Regions from separate parts of the Homo sapiens genome. Here regions 1, 2, 3, 4, 6 and 7 are each linked to region 5. Evidence: promoter capture Hi-C in 16 types of primary human blood cells and fetal thymus (Javierre and others, 2016). All regions are on one chromosome and are shown on one strand. Each heading gives the region's core, a stretch centred on a gene start or on the middle of the fragment in contact. The rest is flanking DNA. Distances are from core to core; before and after follow the strand shown.

Evidence for each region. The method cuts DNA at HindIII sites, captures the fragments that hold promoters and counts their contacts. A CHiCAGO score of 5 or more calls a contact.
Region 1: a fragment that was not itself captured here is called in contact with the fragment with the promoter of C5orf67 in region 5 in 7 of 17 cell types (total B cells, naive B cells, non-activated CD4 T cells and 4 more); the score reaches 12.9 in total B cells.
Region 2: a fragment that was not itself captured here is called in contact with the fragment with the promoter of C5orf67 in region 5 in 6 of 17 cell types (naive B cells, total B cells, non-activated CD4 T cells and 3 more); the score reaches 8.6 in naive B cells.
Region 3: a fragment that was not itself captured here is called in contact with the fragment with the promoter of C5orf67 in region 5 in 5 of 17 cell types (total B cells, naive B cells, activated CD4 T cells and 2 more); the score reaches 12.1 in total B cells.
Region 4: a contact is called between a fragment that was not itself captured here and the fragment with the promoter of C5orf67 in region 5, in 8 of 17 cell types (total B cells, neutrophils, M2 macrophages and 5 more). The highest score is 12.1, in total B cells.
Region 6: a contact is called between a fragment that was not itself captured here and the fragment with the promoter of C5orf67 in region 5, in 2 of 17 cell types (activated CD4 T cells and monocytes). The highest score is 6.8, in activated CD4 T cells.
Region 7: a contact is called between a fragment that was not itself captured here and the fragment with the promoter of C5orf67 in region 5, in 3 of 17 cell types (total B cells, naive B cells and monocytes). The highest score is 8.5, in total B cells.

The regions. Positions count from the first base shown.
Region 1 is chr5:56,331,060-56,334,123 of GRCh38, forward strand. The region is part of intron 2 of LOC105378977 (a long non-coding RNA gene); the gene reads left to right. Among named protein-coding and RNA genes, the nearest start is that of ANKRD55, 99 kb to the left of the region's middle. The HindIII fragment of the contact is 2,170 bases long and covers 673-2,842 here.
Region 2 is chr5:56,284,118-56,287,561 of GRCh38, forward strand. No RefSeq gene overlaps it. Among named protein-coding and RNA genes, the nearest start is that of ANKRD55, 53 kb to the left of the region's middle. The HindIII fragment of the contact is 4,216 bases long and covers 1-3,444 here.
Region 3 is chr5:56,302,287-56,305,811 of GRCh38, forward strand. The region is part of intron 2 of LOC105378977 (a long non-coding RNA gene); the gene reads left to right. Among named protein-coding and RNA genes, the nearest start is that of ANKRD55, 71 kb to the left of the region's middle. The HindIII fragment of the contact is 680 bases long and covers 1,792-2,471 here.
Region 4 is chr5:56,264,805-56,268,211 of GRCh38, forward strand. No RefSeq gene overlaps it. Among named protein-coding and RNA genes, the nearest start is that of ANKRD55, 33 kb to the left of the region's middle. The HindIII fragment of the contact is 3,064 bases long and covers 266-3,329 here.
Region 5 is chr5:56,604,321-56,607,740 of GRCh38, forward strand. It overlaps C5orf67 (chromosome 5 putative open reading frame 67), which reads right to left and starts at 1,936. Exons shown (of 6, transcript NR_161255.1): 1 at 1,702-1,936. The HindIII fragment of the contact is 384 bases long and covers 1,595-1,978 here.
Region 6 is chr5:56,247,598-56,251,120 of GRCh38, forward strand. No RefSeq gene overlaps it. Among named protein-coding and RNA genes, the nearest start is that of ANKRD55, 16 kb to the left of the region's middle. The HindIII fragment of the contact is 5,147 bases long and covers 1-3,523 here.
Region 7 is chr5:56,348,074-56,351,159 of GRCh38, forward strand. LOC105378977 (a long non-coding RNA gene) reads left to right here. Exons shown (of 3, transcript XR_948342.3): 3 at 2,530-2,989. Among named protein-coding and RNA genes, the nearest start is that of ANKRD55, 120 kb to the left of the region's middle. RefSeq lists an enhancer at 2,143-3,086. The HindIII fragment of the contact is 4,812 bases long and covers 1-3,086 here.

The sequences.
Region 1 (3,064 bases), core at 508-3,007, 270 kb before region 5:
GGGTGACTGACAGTCAATGAAACTTGCCATTCTAATCAGCAATAAAAAGGAATGAGCTGTTGCTATACACACAACAGGGATGGATATTAAAATAAATGTGCTGAGAGAAAGAAGCCAGACCAAAAAAAAAAAATAGTGCCTACTGCCTTTCATTTATATACAATGCTAGAAAATGGAAACTATTTCACTGTGACAGAAAGCAGATTAGTAGTTGTCTGTGACTGCACTGCCACCATTCAACCTGTTTCTTAGGTCAGTAATTTGGCATCACCTTGAATCTTCCTTCTCGCTCTCGCTCCTGGTGCCCATTGACTCAGTAGACAGGCCCTAAAGAGTCTACCTTGTAAATTTTGTTCATAATCACCCTTTTCTCACTGTTTTCATGGTCACTTTCTTAGGTCCAATCTTCATACATCTTTTCTATTTCTTATTTGTAGTAGTCTCTAAATGGTTTCCTTCCCTCTATTTCCTGCCTATTCTAATTTATCCTTCATACTGTTTTCTGAATAACCATAAAATATTTTCTATCTTTAAATATAAAAAACAAAATTATAAAATATTTAAAAAATCATTTAAAATGTGCATAGAATTACAAACACTTCAGTGCCTATAACCCAAGATTAAGGACTGTTCACATTTTGGAATTTGTCTTTTGTGTATTATTATAAAAGAAGCTTCTCTTTTAATGGAACCATCTTTGCTCTACTTCCCATCTTCTATGCCATGGGTGCTCCCCAGTTTCCAACACTGTCATATATTTGTATATATCTATTTAGCTCATGTTGCGTACTTCTAATAAATATATGTATTCCTGTTTAAAAATTAAATAAATGATATAATATTGTATATGTCATTCTGCAACTTGCTTTATGACAAGTGTTTGATAACTATGTGTGCTGATATAGATGAAGATGAAATTGACTCTATACTGCTATATAATATTCTTATTACATTATACATTATGCATTATCTTGTGGGTGGGGCATTTGTGCTGTTTCTAGTTTTTTGCTGTTAATAGAATTTAAAAAATAAATATCCTTGTGTATGTCCCTGTAGTGAACTGAATGATGGCCTCAAAGATATGTTCATGTCTAATGCCTAAAATCTGTGAATATCACCTTGTATGGTGAAAGATGTTATTAAGTTAAATATCTTAAGAGGAGGAGCTTAGTCTGAATTATCTGGGTGGGCTCTAAATACAATCACATGTGAGAAAGAGAGGCAGAGGGAAGTTCAATACCACACATACAGAAGAGAAGGCAATGTGAGCACAGAGCAGAGATGCAGCCATAAGCCAAGGAAAGCCAATAGACACCAGAAGTGAAAGAGACAAGGAATGCATTCTCCTCTAGGGCTTTTGGAGGGAGCTCAACCCTGCTTCACCTGCATTTCAGGCATCTGGCCCCCTGAGCTCTAAGAGAATAAATTGTTGTTGTTTTAAGCCAAACAAACTTGTGGTAATTTGTTATGGCGGCCACAGGAGCTAACACAGTCCTGCATTACATTGAACAGTAATTTTCCACGGATTTAAACTTATGAGTCACAGGGCATGTGCAGTTTCCACTTTACTTAAATATTTAGTGAGTGTGTTACTTGCAATTGCAAAAATATGGAGCCAGCCTAATTGCCCGTCAATTAACAAGTGGATAAAGAAAATGTGGTAGATATATACCATGGAATACCACTCAGCCATAAAAAGGAACAAAATAATGGCATTCACAGCAACCTGGATGGAATTGGAGACTACTGTTTTAAGTGAAGTAACTCAGGAATGGAAAACCGAACATCATATGTTCTCACTCATAAGTGGGAGCTAAGTTATGAGGATTCTAAGGCATAAGAATGATACACTGGACTTTAGGGACTTGAGGGAAAGGGTGGGAGGGGCATGAGAGATAAAAGACTACACACTGGGTACAGTGTACACAGCTCGGGTGATGGGTGCACAAAAATCTAAGAAATTGCTGCTAAAGAACTTACTCATGTAACCAAACATGACCTGCTTCCTAAAAACCTATTGAAATAAAAAAAAAATTTAAAAAATAAAATAAAATGAGCTAAAAAGAGTGCAAAATAAATTTAAAAAAGATATTTAGCAAGTATGTTAATATTTTATTTTACTTTATTTTATTTTTCGAGACATGGTCTCACTCTGTCACCCAGGCTGGAGTGCAGTGGCATGATCATGGCTTCCTGCAAACTTGACCTACTGAGCTCAACGATCCTCCCACCTCAGCCTCCCCAGTAGCTGGGACCACAGGTGCACACCACCACACCTGGCTAATTTTTGTATTTTTTGTAGAGATAGGGGTCTCACCACATTGCCCAGGCTGGTCTCAAACTCCTGAATTCAAGCAATCCTCCCACCTCATCCTCTCAAAGTGTTGGGATTAAAGGTGTGAGTCACCACTCCCAGTCATGAGTGTGTTAATTTACACTCACCAAAGCAGTGTGTGCTCCTTTCCATTTCCCACATCTTGGCCAATTGTTGATACTGTTGGACTTTAAAGTCTTTGCCAATCCAAAGTGTGTAAAGTAGTATTTCATTATTATTTTACTCACATTTCCCTTATTACATGTGAAGCCGATAATATTTTTGTATGATTGTTGGTCATTTAGATTTCCACTTCAGTGAGTTTCCTGTTCATAGTCTCCACCCATGTTTGTTACAACTTCGGTGGTCCTTTACATTTGTGAATACTAATCCTCAGTCTGTCACTTATGGTTCAAATATTTTCTGTAAGTCTGTAAATTGTCCTTTAAAAATGATGTATTTTGAGGGAGAGAAGCTCTACATTTTAATTAAATTTTTATCAAAAATTTCAATTAAAGTTTTATCAAAAGCTTAAAGATTTACCAAACCTGTTTTTTATAAGTCATACTTTTTTTGTCTTGTCTAAGAAATCATTCCCTACCTTCAATTCATGAAGATTTTCCTATTAAATGTATACACTGTCTTTAAGTCCTATTTTTCACATTTGATCTTTAATTTATTCAGAACTTTGTATTAGTCTGTTCTTGGATTGCTATAAAGAACTACCTGAGACTGGATAATTTATAAAGA
Region 2 (3,444 bases), core at 661-3,160, 320 kb before region 5:
AGAAAATTTTGCATATCTACAAGGAGTGTGGTATGAAGGAAAAAAGATTAACATATCCAAATAATGGTCCTGGCTCTGTCACTAACTAACCTTGTGATCCTGGGCAGGTTTAACACTCTGGGCCCCAGTTTACAGACACCTACTGCCTCCAGAACAGTTCTTCCCAGTCTGACTTCTTAACCCATCGTATTCAGGCTTTCATCCCCAGCACAACCTACCTGCCCATTGAGAACTGTTAGTGACTCCAAATGGTCCATCCCGGTGGCTTCTTACCTGGTCTTGATCTCCTTGACTTCAGAGAGAGTGGCACTTGGCATTGTGGGCCATCGCCTCTGCAGATTCTTCTTCTTCTTTTTTTTTTTTTTTTGAGACGGAGTCTTGCTCTGTCTCCCAGGCTGGAGTGCAGTGGCGCAATCTCTCACTGCAAGCTCCGCCTCCCGGGTTCACGCCATTCTCCTGCCTCAGCCTCCCGAGTAGCTGGGACTACAGGCGCCCGCCACCACGCCCGGCTAATTTTTTGTATTTTTAGTAGGGACAGGGTTTCACCGCGTTAACCAGGACGGTCTCGATCTGCTGACCTCATGATCCGCCCGCCTCGACCTCCCAAAGTGCTGGGATTACAGGCGCGAGCCACCGTGCCCGGCCCAGATTCTTCTTAACTTTGCTTCAGAAGCGCCATCCTTGAGGTTCTCCTACTCAGCACCTATATGTCCTTCTCTGTTTCCTGCATCCTCAGACAGTTGATCCCAAGGATGGACCCTTCCTCTTTCCAGGGCTCCTCCCTTGGCATTCTCTTTCAGTTGCTTAATTTCAGTCATTACCTCCTTGCAAGGGATTTAGTTCTTTATCTTCAGCTCTGGCTTTTGTCCCTTGTTCTAGTTGAAGTTTCCAAGTGCCTGTTGGACATCTCTGCCAGCACTAGGAAATTCACTAGTTGCAAACCAGAATGCATTTTTTTTTCCCTGTTATCCCTCTCTGTTTCATATTTCTATCCATGGAACCATTGTTCTCCTGTCACTCAAAGTATTTTCTCTCTCTCTTTTTTTTTTTTTTTGCAAATAACTGTACTCTAAAAGAATCATAACACCTTGGAGAAGTTCATCTGAAAGGGATCCCAGAGGTGGTATCTCACAGTGGGAGGCATTGTGGCTATAGGCAGGTGTGGCCTGTGGACTTGAGTCAATCTGTATTTGAATGCTGGCTTAGTTACTTGCTTGCCGAGTGGCCTTTGGAAAGTTACTTAACTTCTCTGTGCCTCAGTTTCACACTTGTAAAATAGAGATAATACCTTAAAAGGTTATTGTTAGCATCAATTAGATGATGTATGTGAAGTCCTTAGTAAAGGGCCTATAACTTATTAAATATTCAATGAATAATATTTATTATCAAGGATACTACCCACTCATTTTTCAGATGGTGAAACTGATGACCGAAGAGATAAGTGAATAACAGGGTAAGAGTTGGGACTAGAAACGTGTCCGATGACTTCAAGATCTGTGTGCCTACCTACATTTTTTTTTTTTGAGATGAAGTCTCCTTCTGTCACCCAGGCTGGAGTGCAGTGGCGTGATCTCAGCTCATTGCAACATCTGCCTCCCGGGTTCAAGCGACCTCAGTCTCCTAAGTAGCTGGGTCTACAGGCATGTGCCACCATGCCCAGCTAATTTTTCTATTTTTAGTAGAGATGGGGTTTCGCCATGTTGGCCAGGCTGGTCTTGAACTCCTGACCTCAGGTTACCCACCTGCCTTGGCCTCCCAGAGTGCTGGGATTACAGGCGTGAGCCACCGTGCCCAGCCCTACCTACATTTTTTAAGGCAATTTATGTATAAGCTAGGGAGTAATGATTGGAAACAGTAAGAAAACCATCTTTGGAGGGGTTTATTTTTATATCTGAAGTTCCTCCGGGAAGGGGTCATGTCTCTAACTTGCTGTCAAGTCTTAATTATTTATGCTAATTGGGACCAAGAAAACTTGGTTAAATGAAAAGTCCATATAGTCTCCAAATGCCTTTTAAATAACAACTTCAACCTTTTCTTTAATTATCATTTATCTGTTTGTTGGAGGTACTACAACAATGTAGAAACAGAACATGAAAAATAGCAAAATGCTTGAGTCACAGATTTCTAACTATGTTTCAAAAGAGAATTACAAATAAGTTCAGCTCAAAAGAAATCTCAAAGATTTTGAAAAATAGACATGGAATGAAGGCATTGTGATATATAAAAATAAATGAAAGAAATTCCACATACATTGTTATCAATGTCTGGAAGTGCTCCATGTTTGGGAGGAGATTAGCCCCTGGTTGCTAATGCTGTTTTTCATATTTACTTATCTTGTTAACTTCATTAAACCTAACAGGAAATAATTTCAGCATCACAGCTAATTTATTTTGACATCCCAAGAGTGCTATTTTATTTTTTTAAATTGTGCCTGCTGCTTTCTATCAAACCATACCCCAACTGAAGGGGCATCTGTTATTGGAATGTCTTTTCAAAAATAACAGTGGAGTCTAAATGTCTGGAAGGTTTACAATAAAATCTTCTATTTGGAGCCAACATTTGCGATGGGAGGCTTGGGTTTATTTTACTTTATTTTTTAAGTCTTTCCAGACTTTTGAGAAAGTCATCATGTGTGATCATGTTTCTTCAGCTGAATGTGGTCAATTCAATCTGGCTCACTGAGGGTTGGGGAAGGGGAATCTCCCAGGAGGCATGAAGTAAACAGCATGTTCTGGATGTGTCTATTGGGCAGAGGTATGAGTTCCAGGTTTTGTTTCTTTTTGAGTTAGAGTCTTGCTCTGTCACCCAGGCTGGAGTGTCACAACTCACTGCAGCCTCCAACCTCTGGGCTCAAATAATCCTCCTGCCTCAGCCTTCTGAGTAACTAGGACTACAGGTGTGTGCCACCATGCCTGGCTATTTTTTTTCTTTTTTTGTAGAGATGGAGTCTCACTATGTTGCCTAGGCTGGTCTTGAACTCTTGGCCTCAAACAATCCTCCCAAAGTGCTGGGATTACAGGTGTGACACACCACTGCACCCAGATGAATGCCATGACTTTTAAAGGGAACTCCTTATTTCTACCTAGAGTCAGTTTCCAGTGGCTTCTGTTTTGAACAGTTTGGTCATCCTGTTACAGTAGGTAGCTAGTCAGATATGAGCAGGGCAGGAAAGGGCCCCCTGCCTCCCACTAGGAATGTCAGGCGACCATCAGGTGATGGTTGGAGGTTGTTAAACTGCCTCTCTAAAATAATAATTGGTCGTAGCCAGCGCCAGGGAAAGGCAGTCTCCCAACAGATTAAAAAAACCGGGCCAGACGTGGTGGCTCATGCTTGTAATCCCAGCACTTTGGGAGGCCGAGGCAGGTGGATCACTTGAGGTCAGGAGTTCAAGACCAGCCTGGCCAACATGGTGAAACCCCGTCTCTACTAAAAATACAAAAATTA
Region 3 (3,525 bases), core at 882-3,381, 300 kb before region 5:
AAATAGCTCACAAAGCACAGTGTCACAAGGAAAAAATTCTCATTTTGTCTTTTTATCTGGCTATGGAGATCTGGGGGTAAACTAGGTTTGTTGAATAAATAAATATAATTCTTTCAAAGTCATCTGAACTTGGAGATCAGAATCACCCAGCACAATCACTTGCTTCAAGATTATATATTACTTCTGAAATAGACACGAGTTATACAGAAACTGGGAGACAGAACAGAGATGGAAATAGTGGTGGTACGGCCCAAGGAAGTACCCACTGCAGCTGGGCATGGCCACATTTTATAGGCCCTCATTAAGTTCCATCATGTGAGGGTCCGCTCACTTCTTCAAATACTCAGATTCTCATCATTGGCAGTGGCTGGTGATCAGGTGGTAAGTTATCCATGCCAATAAAAATAAACATTAGTTTGCATGAGATTTAAGAATGTCAAACAATTAATCTGCATGAAATCTATAGCCGTCACATGGACAGGAAAGCTCCTCTTGGCCTGTTCCAGAAAATTTTCTCCCTGTAAAAATCTTCATGGTAACCCAAGTTGTAATCGGAAGTCATCTCTCTGATTTATCAGGAGACATCCCCATCTTGGGGACCAGAACTCTTGAAAGTCCCTGCAAGTAGTACATTCCCTCACTCCCCTTCCCAAGGCAGACTTACATGGAAGGCAAAACTAAAATGAGAAGGATGCTTTGTGTGCATGGAATCAAGATGAGGAGATTTAGATATATGTGTATAATAGCATCAGGATGAGATGGCTGGATGTATCCATCCTGCCATCAGGATGGTCTGGAAAAAGGGAGAAATTGGAGCCTAGCAGCTAAAGCTCCATGTCCCTGAACACCTGAACAGTCTCAGCCAATATTCACCCTCCCATTTTCTAGATCTTGATGATGATGGTTCATGCTATCTTTACATTTTCTATGCTTTTAATCAAGTTATAATCAACAGTGCTTCCCGGGTAACATGCTGTCTTTTTAAAGTGATTTGTATATTCTTATTACAGCCTAATATAAACTGCTCTCGCTGTTTAATGTGTAGAAAGCAATATCATTTCACTCTTTCTAAGTTCTTAGTAGGCATCTCATGGTCACCCTCAAGTACTACTATAGTGTAGACCAGTGGTCCCCAACCTTTTTGGCACCAGGGACCAGTTTCATGGAAGATAATGTTTCCATGGAAAGGGTGGGCAAGGAATGGTTTTGGGATGAAACTCTTCCACCTCAGATCATCAGGCATTAGTTAGATTCTCATAAGGAGCACACAACCTAGATCTCTCGCATGCGTAGTTCACAGTAGGGTTTGCGCTCCTATGAGAATTGAATGCTGCAGCTGATCTGACAAGAGGCAGAGCTCAGTGGTAATGCTCACTCCCCCACTGCTCACCTCCTACTGTGCAGCCTGGTTCCAATACTGGTCCAAGGCCTGGGAGATGGAGACCCCTGGTGTAGACAATAAGGTATAGTCTTAGTTCTACTTAGTGCCATTAATGGTTGCAGTGGAGTAGAGCATCATAGCTCCCAGCTTGTGTGCTTCCGTAGGACTGGGTAACAGGCGTGTCCAAGTAATTGATCCTCTCAACCCTTGGGGAACACAGGCAGGTCCTAGATGGCTGGAACCTTTAGGTCATTCCTGCCCCACAGTGATGTCTCACAATATGAAAAAAGCTGAGAATCCCTAGGATAGTGGAATGGACCTGGAAATCAGCATACCACTATGTATGTGTGGGCACCCTTTTGCAGGTCATTGTACTCTCAGAAGCTCAGTATCTAAGCCAGGTGGGCCAAAGCTTATTTCATGCTGAATCAACAAAGTTACATCCACCTGGGCTTAAAATGAGCTTATGAGGGGAGGCAGTGCCAGGCCTGCAAGTGGAATCCAAATGGTCCCAGGTGTGGAACTAACTGCTGGACTGCAGATGCAGAGAACCAAGTGGGTCATAGCATGAACAGAAATCAGACCCTTCTCCTTTCCTCTTGGTGCTCATATTTGTCAGACTTGGGAGGCTCTGAGAGGAGAGTGGCTGGTAGCAATGTTTAAAGAGGGCAAAAACAATGAGCTGGTCATTCACTTACCCAGTGGAAAGCCCAGGGAGGAACTCAACACATTTGGGAAGCAGTGACCAGAGTAACTTAGACTACATCTCAAATTATAGCCAATAAAGTGATTGTCATTTTTCTCGCAGAAAATGTACATATTCTCTGAGCTCTAGATTTTTTGACTGTGCCATTATTTCTGATATCCCAACAATTCTTTAACATCAGGGGACCTTTTACATATACTCTATAGAGCTAACAACATTTTCTATTACTAAATGGAAATGTTGTCCAGTATTTGTCTCCACTTTCTCTGGTAAGATATTCTGCCTCCTACCTGTGGACATTTAGCTACATTCCTGGTCATTAATTGTATAGTGAATATCTTGGCTGGCGAAATTTCTTAGTCCTTTTTTCTCTTGCTGTCAGAAAGCTTTCTGGAAAGTTTTATTTTGATATCACTGTATTAGTTTGCTGGGGCTGCCCTAACAAAATACTATACACTGGGTAGCTTAAAAGACAGGACTTTATTTTCTCATGACTCTGGAGGCTAGAAGTCTGAGATCAAGGTGTTGGCAGGTTTGGTTTCTCCTGAGTCTCCTCTCGTGGCTTGTGGATGGGTGGCTTCTCCCTCTGCCTTCACATGATCGTCTCTCTGTTTTCTAATCTCCTCTTCTTGTGGGGACACCGGTTGTATTGGATTAAGGCCCACCATATTTACCTCATTTTAATTTAATACCTCTGTAAAGGCCCTGTGTCCAAATACAGTCACATTCTGAGGCCCTGGGGGTGGGGGCTTCAACATACGAATTTTGAGAGGCCTGCAGTTCAGCAATAACAGTCACTAATAGCACTGAAATGAATCTGTGGCTGGCTCAGTCCTTCAGGGCAAAAAAGGATGTAGCAGATATCTGTTTTTAATTACACTAATAGCTCACAGGATTTTAGAACAGAACATGTCTTTGGAAAAGTCATCTCATCATATGCTGTTATTTGGCAGATTAAGAAACTGAAGCCCAGAGATGTTATGTGACATCCCTAAACATATACAACTGGCATCTGATGATGACCTGAGGGTGAGGCATATGGTCAGAACTTCAGCAGAAGCAAACTACTCTACTTACATATTCTTATATATAAAGCCAAGATAAAACCATGATTGTCTTTTTGTGGCCAGGAAATGTACTCATGGAAGAAAGCCTACTTATCGTCCTGCAAATTGGTAATTTTTCCGTGGTGACTTCTCTCCTTGAATCCTGGAGTTCCCACCTGGAATGTTCCTGGCTGCCTCTCTAGCAGTGATGTGGCTGTCTGCTGAGGTGGCCTCTGCCTGTGCCAGGGCCAGCAGCAGCTTCCTGATCCTGGCTTCCTGGTCCCAGTATGGCAGCCACAGCTGCCTCCTCATACTTTCAAAGCTGATGATAAAATCACAGAATCAGGAATCCAGCTGCCACCACTGCTCTGACACATTTTCATGACCTGCTT
Region 4 (3,407 bases), core at 548-3,047, 340 kb before region 5:
TGCCCTCAAATATTTAATACACACTTATCCCAATGACAAATGTTGACGCACTTAGGGAATGTATTGGCACCTATAGCTAACACATCTATTATGTTTATCTGTACAATCGCCATAAGCTTCCTAATGTGGTGGGTATGAATTATTTATGTAGCATAGTGCTTGGTGCTTGTGACTTCTCAGTTGATGTTTGTAGAAAGCATTAGTGAATAACTTGGAGTAAGATGATCTGGGTTTCAGCTTTTAGTTGGTTATTTCCTATTTGGGAAGCTTTTAGTAAGTCAGATGTTCTCTGAATCTCAGTTTCCTCATCTGTAACATCAATCATGATGATAATTCCTAAGCTCACTTTTTATGGGAATGAAAGGCATATGGAAAGGACTTGGTATAGTACTTGTCAGAGATGGTTATTATTTTTAGGTGACCACACCAAAGTTGTAAAATATGTTAGTGTTTGATACCTCCTTGTTGGGATTATAATATAAAATGTCTGGGGCTAGAATTTAGCCAGATCCCACTGGTGACACCTCATCTCTGGTTGGAATTTCCTGCCCTCTTCTCAAAGTACATACCTTTGTCACTTCACATGGATAATTGTTGAAGTAATTTACTTATTGTTTGTCCTGGCTTCAATGTTGCCTTCTTCATCTCCAATTTCATTCATTCATTCATTCATTCATTCTTTTTTTTTTTTTTCCAAGACAGAATCTCTCTCTGTTGCCCAGGCTGGAGTGCAGTGGCATGATCTCGGCTCACTGCAACCTCTGCCTCCTGGGTTCAAGTGATTCTCCTGCCTCAGCCTCCCTAGTAGCTGGGACCACAGGTGCCACCGCCACGCCTGTTGAGTTTTTGTATTTTTAGTAGAAAGCCATGTTGGCCAGGCTTGTCTCGAGCTCCTGGCCTTAAGTGATCCTCCTGCCTCTGTGTCCCAAAGTGCTGGGATTACAGGCGTGAGCCACCACACCCGGCCCTTTCTTTCTCTTTTTAAATATAATTTTGTCATCTTTCTTCTAGACAATAGATTATCCCTTTAAAACATTTTTCTTGTAAGACATTTACTTTTGTTAAATGGTGAAAAGTTAACAGTTTCTTATCTAGATTTATAAAGATTTTTTAAAAATTTCAACTTTTATTTTAGATACAGGGGTACATATGCAGGTTTATTACATAAATGGACTGCACCCAGGTCATGAGCATAGTACCCAATAGGTAGTTTTTCACCTCATTCCCTCCCACCCTCTCCCATCTAGTAGTCTGCAGTGTCTGTTGTTCCCATGTTTATGTCTATGTATGTTCAATATTTAGCTCCCACTTTTAAGTGAGAACATGCAGCATTTGGTTTTCTGTTCCTGCATTAACTCACTTAGGATTATGGCCTCCAGCTCCATCCATGTTGCTGCAAAGGACATGATTCATTCTTGTTTATGTCTGTGGAATATTCCATGGTGTATATGTTCTACATTTTCTTTATTCAGTCCATCATTTATTGGCACCTAAGTCAATTCCATGGCTTTGCTATTGTGAGTAGCATGGCAATGAACATATGAGTGCATGTGTCTTTTTGGTATAATAATTTATTTTCCTTTGGGCATATACCCAATAATGGGATTTCTGGGTCGAATGGTAGCTCTGTTTTAAATTCTCTGAGAAGTCGCCAAACTGCTTTCCACAGTGGCTGATCTAATTTACATTCCCACCAACAGTGTATAGGTATTCCGTTTTCTCTGCAGCCTTGCCAGCATCTGTTTTTTTTTTTTTTTTTACTTTTTAGTAATGGTCATTCTGAATGGCGTGAGATAGTGTCTCATGGTGGTTTTGATTTCCATTTCTCTGATGATTAGTGATGATGAACTTTTTTTTTTTTTTGAGATGGAGTCTCGCTTTGTTGCTCAAGCTGGAATGCAGTGACGCGATCTTAGCTCACTGCAACCTCCACCTCCCAGGTAGGTGGGTTCAAATGATTCTCCCACCTTAGCCGCCCAAGTAGCTGGGATTACAAGTGCGCCACCACACCCTGCTAATTTTTTTTTTGTATTTTTAGTAGAGATGGGGTTCCACCATGTTGACTAGGCTGGTCTCTAACTCCTGACCTCAAGTGATCCTCCTGCCCAGGCCTCTCAAAGTGCTGGGATGACAGGCATGAGCCATCGCACCCAGCCAGATGAGCATTTCTTCATATGTTTGTTGGCCACTTGCATGTCTTCTGAGAAGTGTCTGTTTAGGTCCTCTGCCCATTTTTTAATGAGGTTATTTGGTTTTTGCTTGTTGATTAGTTTAATTTCCTTATAGAGTCTGGATATTAGACTTTTTTCAGATGCATAGTTTGCAAATATTTTCTCCCGTTCCCTAGATTGTCTATTTACTCTGTTGATAGTTTCTTTTGCTGTGTAAAAGCTCTTTAGTTTAATTAGGTTCCACTCATCAACTTTGTTTTGGTTTCAATTGTTTTTATTTCCCTCTCATTTCTGAAGGCTTTTTTCAAGGAGGCCCTTCCATAATCCTAACTTCCATGTGCTTCTGTCACCTGACCACCATTATCCACCCACTAACATCCATGCAAAAAGGGTGTGCAGTGGCAGCAGGGTAACTCTTGGGACCCCAATGAGCTTTGTGCATTTTCACTTCTCAGCCTGTGTGTGCTCTCCCTCTCCTTCTCCCTCCTTCCTTGGAAGGTCTTCTCCATCCTCTCTTTACCCCAAACCACATCTACATCTCCAGGATCCCTCTTCCGTGAAGGTCTCATCCATCCCATGCTGATCTCCCCACTTTGAACTCCCTTTGCTCTTATGAGGCATTACAGATTGCTGGATATTTAAAGGCATGGTCTTTGGTGTCGGACAGCCTGGAATAAAATCCTGGCAAATGATTTAAACTTTATGTGGGTTGGTTTCCTTACCCCTAAAGTGGCAATAATTATAGTACCTACTTAATAAAGTTGTTTTGAGGATTCAACAACATGATTTATATAAAGCATTTAGCACAGTCGTTGGAACAGAGTAAACACTCAATACACTGCCACTATTACTATCCTGATCAGTATTATCAGTAAAGAGATTACTTGATACTTCTTTATTGCTTGTATCGGATTGGGCCTCATCTTCCTAGGTAGATAGCTTCTTATATTCAGGGACTGTGTCCCATGTTTCTTTGCTGCAACCCTTGCATTCATTGCCTTATATACTCCCTGAACATGGCAAGTACACCACAACTTCTTATTGCTTGATCAGTCTTGTCTAGTATTAAGAAATAAAACCGATCTTTGGTTAATTTTTAGTAAAGCCACATAGACACTGATTGAGGATGCCATTGCCATGTGCCAAGAATATCTACAAAGCTTTCTGATTAGAGACAGTGGCCCATTCAGAATTCACAGAGTAGCCTGTCTGACTGTAATATACATTTTATTTAAT
Region 5 (3,420 bases), core at 686-3,185:
CTGCACACTCTGCTGTGCCAACAGAGAAGACCAATTATATGTGTGAGACGATCTGCCATGAACTACTTGGTCTCTGCTGGCCATTTTAGTACTAAAATTTATGACAGCACTAAGCAAAACTCCCAAAGTGCAGAAAGCTGGGGGCTGGGGCAGATCAAGTCAAACATGTCGCCTACACAGGCCCCTCAGTCTCCTTCCTCAAGCCAAGCTTCCACTCTTCCCCCCGCCCCGGGCCACTCTCTGCAGGACAGGGTGTTCAGAAATTGCTTGAAAAGGGAGAATTATCTTGAAACCAAAGACATTCATTTAGACTTGAACAAAGGTGGTTGTTTGAGGGAATACTAGGGAAAAAACAACTTAGAAGAAGGGAAAGGAGGCATATAGATGGAAGTTAAGTCAGACTCCACATAGTTTCAATTAATATGATTTTTGGAAAGGCTCTTACATCCTCATTTCTGTGGAGGCCGACTTGGCCAAAGTGCTGAACCAAAGTTTTGCCATATAGAACACAGCCACACAAACAGGCCCCTCCTAGTCAATCACTGAATCCAGCCTCTCCAGACTCAACAATCTGACTTAGGATCTCAGAATTCCAGGAAATACTAGGGATGGCTTGGCTGCCTCCTTGGTTATAGGTGAGGAAACAGGCGAATGGTGAAATGACTTAACCAAAGTTCCCAGAGCTGGCACATTTATAGCTGAGATCTCCCAATACTGTTGTCTTACTCCTGCACGCAAAAATTAGTGGATGTTTTGTTCTTTTTTTGTCTTTCAAAGGACTTGGTTTCATTGTTAAAAGAAACCTCACTGCAAGTTACCAAGCTGTCAAACCCTGAGGCGGGATGAGCCACTATTTTTCAAATCCGTGCACCAGTAGTGCTTCTGTGACATCACCCAACACAGAATATCTTAAAATCGATTTCAGGAATGGATCTCGTAACCAAAAAACAGCTTGTTCAGAAAGGGGCACCTATGCACGTAGCAGATGCCTTCTATCTGGTCTCCATCTTCTATCAGGTCTCCCTTTCTCTCTCTTTATTACTGCCCCCCACCTCTGGGAAACTGCCACACCCAGCCACTAAGACCAAGACTTTGCGCACTAAGACTGTGTCGACAGATAAGCAGAAAAGTACAGCACTAGTTTCATCTAGTGTTCTGCCCTGTGTTTCAGTTGAGAGAAATTTCACACATATACACAGACACAGACACACACACACATACTCTCTCTCTCTCTCTTCCTAAGAAATGAATATAGAGCAGCTAAAACCAGATAAGTTCTAGATCCCTGAGGCTTGAGACCCAAGCCTGAGACTGTTCTTAATTGGCCTCATTGACAGCAGATGCCCAGCTCCTCTGCCCCACTCTCTAGGATCCTGCACAGATGTGGCCAAATTCTTCCCCACCAAACCAGCTTTAGACTCTCCTGGGCCTGGCGATCCATGCCTTCTTCTTCACCCCTCTCCTGAAGATTCCTGTGACTATGGGTCTGGAAGCCCTTTCTGCCAAGACACCACTTTCCTCTTCTGGTCTCATTTGGTTTGTCTGACCCTTGGCTGGTTCTAATCCTTGGTGGATTCCTTCACATACTGCTCTAAGCTTGCCCTTTGACTGCATTACCTCGAGCCTTTCTACAAGGCACCAGCTCTATTTCCTGGCCAGAAGTAGAAATTCCCTCCCCCGCTGCGCAGAAGTCCCACTCACAGAATTCGGCTTCATTGCTTCTCTGCCTCTCCAGCTCCATTCCTCGAAGAGCAGAGATGACAAGATGTAGGTTCTGTGTATGCATCCATGTTCTCACTGATGGCTCAGCCAGCATCTCTAAAGTTTTTTTTAATGATTAAGGGCCTTTGGGTTCCCCTGTGGCACTTCCTTGGAGGTAAGGGCTCAGGTGAAGTTGTTCATTTGGCTGTTGATCCCAGGGGAGCACAGGGAATATGAAACAGGGAAGAGAGGAAAGCTAATAAAGAATGTGTTAAGAAGCTTTGGGCAATCAGGGCTTCCTCTAGCAGGAAACCCTTAGGAGACTGCAGAACATTCCTTGGAATGAGGGCAAGGACTTTGGATTATTTATCCAGCCAGGACTTTCCCTCTTTGGCCAAGGGTCATTCCTTGGGCAATAATTCCCTGGCACTTGCAGACTAACCTGTGTGCTTCCAAGCTCATTTCTTTTTTCTTTTTTCCTTTTGTCTTTTTTTTTTTTTGAGATGGAGTCTTGCACTGTTGCCCACGTTGGAGTGCAATGGTGCGATCTCGGCTCACTGCAACCTCTGCCTCCTGGGTTCAAGTGATTCTTCTGCCTCAGCCTCCTGAGTAGCTGGGATAACAGGTGCCCGCCACCACACCCAGCTAATTTGTTGTGTTTTTAGTAGAGATGGGGTTTCACTATATTGGCCAGGCTGGTCTTGAACTCCTGACCTTGTGATCCGCCTGCCTCGGCCTCCCAAAGTGCTGGGATTACAGGTGTGAGCCACCATACCCAGCCGCTTCCAAGCTCATTTCTATGGCTGAAGAATGCCCTCAGGCAGAGAGAAGCAGGAGGTTGTCTGTCTACACAGCATGTGACTACAGCCAAACTCTGGGGTGGCCAAGGGGACATGGGTTGGACACCAACAGCGTCTGCTACAAAAGTGGTTGTTGCCACCCCTCAGAATCCCCCTCTCTGTGTGATCTTCCAGATTCAATGTAATACGTACTGAATGCTGCCAAATATAATGTACCAGACTAGACTCAGGTAATCACAAAGATGTGTAAGACAGAGTTCTTCTCCACACAGAACTTTCAATTTGATGTAAGAGACAAACAGAAATAAAAGTCTTTATAGAAAAGTAAGTCTTTATAGAATAAAGAAGAATATGAGAAGGGCTGTATTAGAGCCATGAATCACTGGCTGTGAGAGCTGCGGGAAGATGAGATTAATTTTGACTAGAGGGAGAAGGCTATCAGGGCAGTTTTCCAAAGCTAAAATATTTTAAACATATGCTAAATCGACAGACATCCAATTCCCACCAAGAGCAAAAGAATAAACATTCTTTCGCAGGGCCCTAAAGCCAGAAAGCAGTGAAAGAATTAGAACCATTTTATCTCAATTCACAAAAGGAAATAAGTGACATCTTTCAGTATCACCCCATCTTCTAGATGCAACGTTTAAAACCAAGTCACAAGAGCAAGATGTTCTTCCTGCTCCACGTTCAACTATGCATTTGAAATCTGTTCTCATTTGTCGAAATGAGCAATTAATTAACAGTCTTTGTGAAGTTCTCAGACTCAACAAGTGTGCCCCTCTCCTGCTGCCTCTGCCACAGGCAGCCACTTTGCATGTCCCTGCTTTTGAAAGACAACTTAGGAATGAAGCTAAACGAGACATCAGCAGTTTTCCAAATCCAGGTGAAGAAAGTGAATGACTTCAGCATGAAAGACAGG
Region 6 (3,523 bases), core at 818-3,317, 360 kb before region 5:
ACAGAAACAAAATGGGATAAAAACACAACCCACGATGCTTTTAAATGTCTGTGTGAATGGTGAATTTGCTGAGCATCTCAAAATTGTTTTTGAAAACTTCTAAGTTGGACCACATATCCTTTCCGTCTATTTTTAACTCGTGAATTATTGGCCAAGTTTAGATGCAGTCCTGTGGTTTGAATTAAGTTAGCACATCATAGAGATCTGGCTCCAGCAATCTCACTCCTCCCCTCTGCTCCTTCCTGGCAGACTCTGGAGGGTTTAGAATAACATTATTCTTTGCATTAATTTTTCTGAGAGGAAGTCTTTGCAAGGAATCTAACTGAACTTGCCTCTCCAAAGTTTCTTGTAGAGTTAGGAAAACAAAATGTGAGGTTACCAAGAAGGTTAATGGAAGAGAAGTCTGTGGCTGTTTGCTTAAAATGGTTGCTAATGGGGCAAAAGTCTCACTCTGTAGAGTTGTTCTGTTTTGTGACCAGACTGTACCCCTACCAGCCAAAAACGTCCAGGAGGATTGTGTTGCTGCAGCAACGCCAATCCCTCCCAATTGCAAGAAAAGCAACTTACAATGTGACACTCTTGGTATATGTGAGCCCCACTTTGATCACGAGCAGGGTAAAGCAATGCTTCTTAAATTTCAATGGGCACAAACGTGATCTGGGGGATCAACCGAAGATGAACTTTCTGATTTAGTAGACCAGGGTAGGGGCAGAGATTCTGGATATCTGGCAAGTTACCAGATTATGTTGGTAGTTGGTCCATCTTTTGTGCAGCAAGGGGCTAGAATATTTCTCAATAACTAAATAAAAAAAAAATACACTTAAGGGCTTCTCCATGGAGGTTCACTACTGAACAGTAAAAACTCATAAATATAAACTAAGCTCCCAAAGAGCCTCAGAAAATCAATCTCTAACAGAGGTTAGCCAGAGGTGGACACTGGTTAATATCTGGCAACTCTGACCACCTTGAATCCCCGTGTCTATTTTCAGGTAAAAATGGAGTCACCTAATGGCTAGATGTTATCAGGGCCATACATGTCAGAGCTTCCTCAGAATTCTGCCCCATTCTAGTTCTACACACACAGAAAAATTACAGAACATATCTAAGTATTTCTCCAGTATGTATACTGGAGATAATCATGATACCCATTCTGAAAGGTTGTTGTGAGGATAAACTGGGGTAACAAGGCCGTGGTGTGCTAGTGGGTCCAGAATTGGTTCCTTCTGGGTTCTTGGTCTCGCTGACTTCAAGAATGAAGCCGCGGACCCTCATGGTGAGTGTTAAAGGTCTTAAAGATGTTGTGTCCAGAGTTTGTTCCTTCAGATGTTCAGACGTGTCCAGAGTTTCTTCCTTCTGGCGGCTTTGTGGTCTCGCTGACTTCAGGAGTGAAGCCACAGACCTACGCAGTGAGTGTTACAGATTCATTCCTCCCGCTGGGTTTGTGGTCTCACTGGCTTCATGAGTGAAGCTGCAGACCTTCCAGGTGAGTGTTACAGCCCGAAAAGCCAGTGTGGACCCAAAGTGTGAACAGCAGCAAGATTTACTGGGAAGAAACAAAGAACAAGACTGCCACACCTTGGAAGCGAACCCAACAGCATTGCAGCTGCTGGATCAGGTGACCTGCTTTATTCCCTTATTTGGCCCCACCCACATCCTGCTGATTGGTCCATTTTACAGAGAGCTGATTGGTCCATTTTACAGAGTGCTGATTGGTCCGTTTGACAGAGTGCTGATTGGTCTCTTTTGACAGAGTGCTGATTGGTGCGTTTACAAGCCTTTAGGTAGACACAGAGTGCTGATTGGTGCATTTACAATCCTTTAGCTAGACAGAAAAATTCTCCAAGTCCCCACCCGACCCAGAAGCCTAGCCTGCTTTACCTCTCACTAGCACTGTCTAGAGCTGTCTAGAGAACTTTCTTATCAAAAAATGTTGTAATTGGGTTTTTCTCAAGAAATGGTAAATTGGGGTCTCTCAAACTGGATGCTACATGAGGTATGACCATATTCTGTCATTATCCCATGATTGGTCAATGCTTGGCTCTTTCACCTTGCCAAGGAAACCACTGAGTGTAATTTCAGAGTTTTGGGAGTTCATTGCTCCATCCGTTTTGATCTCCATCACAAGAAGCAGGACTCCAAGCTGTACAGTTTAAGGATGGATCCCAAGATATTATTGTCTCTCCAAAGTTTGTACTATAATGAATATGCCAAAATTAGCATGGGGAGGAACACAATGTACGTATATAGGTAATATAAAATGAGCCTGTGACCCAGTTACAGCTTTCATACATTTTTCTAAATAATCGTAGCTGGTAGATTAATTGGAAGATGGCAGCTCCCGTAGCAAGTAGGGGGGTAATTTCCCTCTGGTGCATTTGTGCTGAAAACATGGGTTTACTATTCTGAACGTAAGGGACATTAACAATCAGCCTAGCCATTCCAACACCAATAGATCTTTCATTCTTCTTTAACTGTTCTTTTCTATTCCTCTACATTTCTCTGTTTCCTCCCCTGACTCCTCTTCAATGCCTTCTGGTGAAAAGAAAGAAGTGTCTTTTCTTTTTTGAGAATGCTAGGCTGCAATTAGTGTGCCTCCTTTGACACAAAAACTTTCCCCAGAGAGGTAGATTTACAACCTACAGTCCACTAAGCACATGGGCGTTGGAGCTTGACTGGCTAAATTCTAATCCCAGTTTTATAACGTGATGCTATCTCAGTTACGCCTTATTTCCCTCATCTGTAAGATGAGAATATCTTAGTGCCTTCTTCATAAAGTTTTTGAGTGAAGTAAATTGACTTAAATATGTCAAGTTCTTAGGGCAATGCCTTACATCGTAATTCTGATAGACATTTACCTTTAAGATTTCCATCAGTTATTCTATCTCTTTGTTGTTGTCGTTTGTTTTTATTGAGATGAAGTCTTGTTCTGTTGCCCAGGCTGGAGTGCAGTGGCGTGATCTTGGCTCACTGCAACGTGCGCCTCCCGGATTCAAGCAATTCTCCTGCCTCAGCCTCCTGAGTAGCTGGGATTACAGGCACTCACCACCACACCTGGCTAATTTTTGTATTTAGTAGAGGTGGGGTTTCACCATGCCACATTGGTCAGGCTGGTCTCGAACTCCTGACCTCAGGTGATCCACCCGCCTTGGCCTCCCAAAGTGATGGGATTATAGGCATGAGCCACTGCGCCTGGCCAAGTTATTCCATCTCTTTTGCAACTTCATCTTTTTCCCTCCTCAAGAAACTTTTCCTTAGCCTACACATATATCCTTCTTCAGGCCTTAAAAAAATAAAAATGAAACAAAACTGTGATGATGTGATGTTTCTTCAAACAGATTTATTCTTTGTTTCTTGACATGATTTTGGGAATAAAAAGGCTACATTTGCTATTTCCTTTCCAGACCACCCAATCTCTGCTTGATCCAATGTAATCTGGCTTTAGCTCCCTAGCTGCTGAGGGCAAGTACTACTGTGCAGATGCTCTGATGGACAACTGTTCTGATGGAAGTTAGGATCCAGGTCA
Region 7 (3,086 bases), core at 506-3,005, 260 kb before region 5:
GAATGTGAAAATTTTTCTTTTTTTTTCCTAGGATTAATAATGTTTGCTGGGCTTGTAATTTTAAGATCCTTTTTATGGACAAAGATCTTAAGCAAACAGGATGATCCTTAGGTTGACAGCAGAACAGTTAATGGAGACGTACTCTACTACTTTGTTGTTGACCACTGGCTATTTGGGGAACAGTGTCAGGTGGATTTGGCATGGCTATTAAAATAATCAACTTAAATAAAAAATACATCCCAATATAATTCCCTTGTAGTTCTTTTAGTTGGATTTGAAACTGTTCCACAACTGAAATTTGGAAAATCAAGTTATATTGAAGGTGGAGGGAGGAATGGTTGGCTGAATTTAAATGACAGATTTAATTGTTTTGTTTTGTTGGAGAATACTGTCTATAAATGTCTAAGAATTTGGTGTTAGAAGTTTGTACACTATTCTAAAAAGAAGGAAATAGAGGATCAAACTTACAGTTAACAAACTATTTGCAAAGAAAATATCTCTTAACACCCTAGAAAGGCAAAGAAAATTAATGTGAACACACCTAAGGGCAATTAACACTTATAAAATGAAAGTACATTATATTGACAGCTTTATCTTTTTTGTTTGCTTTTTTTAAAAAATGAACAGAGCTTGAAGTGTTAATTTTAAAAATCAGGGCTGGGCACAGTGGTTCATGCCTGTAATCCCAGCACTTTGGGAGGTCGAGGCGGGTGGATCACGAGGTCAGGAGATCTGAGACCATCCTGGCTAACACGGTGAAACCCCACCTCTACTAAAAATACAAAAAATTAGCTGGGGGTGGTGGTGGGCGCCTGTAGTCCCAGCTACTCGGGAGGCTGAGGCAGGAGAATGGCGCGAACCCGGGAGGTGGAGGTTGTAGTGAGCCGAGATCGTGCCACTGCACTCCAGCCTGGGTGACAGAGCGAGACTCCATCTCAAAAATAAATAAATAAATAAATAAATAAAAAAAATAATAAAAATCACCTGAGGGTATTTTAATGTTTCTGGTAAAATTACTGATGCTCATGATGGCAGCCTTTCTGGCACTTTTCAGTTTACATGTTTGGATTTGTAGTCATGCCTTGCTTAACTATGGGGATACGCTCTAAGAAATGCATCATTAGGCGATTTTGTCGTTGTGTGAACCTCATACAGTGTACTTATACAAACCTAGATGGTATAGCCTACTATACATCAATATCAAAGCTATATGGTATTGTGTATTGCTCCTAGACTACAAACCTGCACAGCATTTTACTGTACTGAAAACTGTTGGTCATTGAAACATAACAGTACCCAAATGGCATTTGTGTATCTGAACATATATAAACATAGAAAAGGTAAAAATACAGTGTTATTATCTTATGGGGTCACCGTCATATCTGTGGGGTCACCGTCATATTATATGGGGTCACGGTCTGTCAGTGACCAAAATGTCATTATGCAGTGCATAACTATACATACAAGTGACATAAATTCTGTGGAGAGAAGTTTTAAGCACATTTGTGAAACAAGCTACAGAAGAACTTTTGTTTTACATTTTTATTGTGTATTTGGATGAGGGGAATAAACTGCTGACATAATTTGCTGATGATTCAGAATTGGCTATCAGCAGAATTATAATCCTGGCGAAGATGGAGGAAAAAATATAGAGAGACCTCCTGTGACAAAAAATGAGTGGAAAATTGTCACAAAATCACTTTTGGTGGTGAGGGGTAAGGGGATTGCCCCTGGGGAAAAATAAGTCATTGGATCATGCGGGTTGAGAGAGGCCGAATGAAGAGCACCTGAATGCTCTTGGCTGTCTTACCCAGCCCCAAATCCTCACTCAACACCCAGAAATGGGAATTATCTCCTTGCCAAGATGGGGAAACTGAGTCTCAGATGGATCGACAAACTTGGCAAGGTCTATAAGCAAAATAATAGAGGATGTAGGAATTCAAACTCATGGCTTCCAGGCACCAAAGTCCTCACTGAGAAAAACAGGGTGAACATAGAAAAATGACACTCTGAGAGAGAGACCCATTGAAAAGAAGTGGACAGTGAGCTTGGGTTTTAAATGTGATTCACTGACCAGCTGACTGAGAGGAAGTTTCAAAAGGTCTGTAGCACAGTGGGCTGAGGGACACTGCAATTCTTCTCCCTTCAACTCCCAGAGACTAAGTCCAGCAGTATGGGCTTCAACCAGGGGCACTTTGGTACCAGAAGGATACAGGCTGGACAGATTCCAATAGAGCAATAAAAAGAGTAAAGGAAACAGAGATTTATCTGTCGAAGGATGCATGAGTCCAAGCACTTGTAGCTTGCATTAATGGGGAGGAGAGGACGATGGATGGCAACTCTTTGAAGTGTGTGTCTGCATTTAAGGAGTGATTAGCTTATAGCAGGAGTACATCCAGGAGTGGGAAGTGACGAAATGTGGATGAGAAACCTCTAAACTGATAGCAGAAAATGGTTTTTGGAAGAGTTACAGGGCAACTCCTTGAGGCTCTGATGTTTTTCACTTTTCCTGACTCACTTGTTTTCCAGGAGTCCCAGTGTCTCCTGAGGAAATCCCTTTCCCATTCAGCCGGCAGCTGCAGCAGGTGGGATGGGCCAGACCAGCCCTCTGGGGATGCTGATCCCAGGGAGCATCCAGGCCGGAAGGTCCAAACGGGCAAGTGACTCATTTGCTTTTCCTCCCTTGGTCATGTCTATGACTCATACACTTTCATTCAGTCCCAAGTATGAGAAAGGAACATCAAAAAGTCCAAGATGTTATCAAATATTTGATGAAAAAGAAAATTCCCCTCTCATATGACCCTTACAGAAAATGTTTATTTAGTCTTTTCATTTTGTTGACATTTCTTTGATTTATCAACATTGAGAAGGTACAGTGAGGAGAAGGAAGGCTGTTAAGTGAGACAAAGGAGGGTTAGGATGGCTCAGTCATTGCTCCCCCGAGGGAGTGATCTAAGCTGCTCACCCACAGACAGAAAGGGTAAATGGGCTAGCTCTTCATTAATAAGAAAGGACTCTTCGTTTGAGTAAGTGAGGAGTATTTACAGTGCTGTGTTTGTAATCACATGGTGCCTGTGTATAGATGG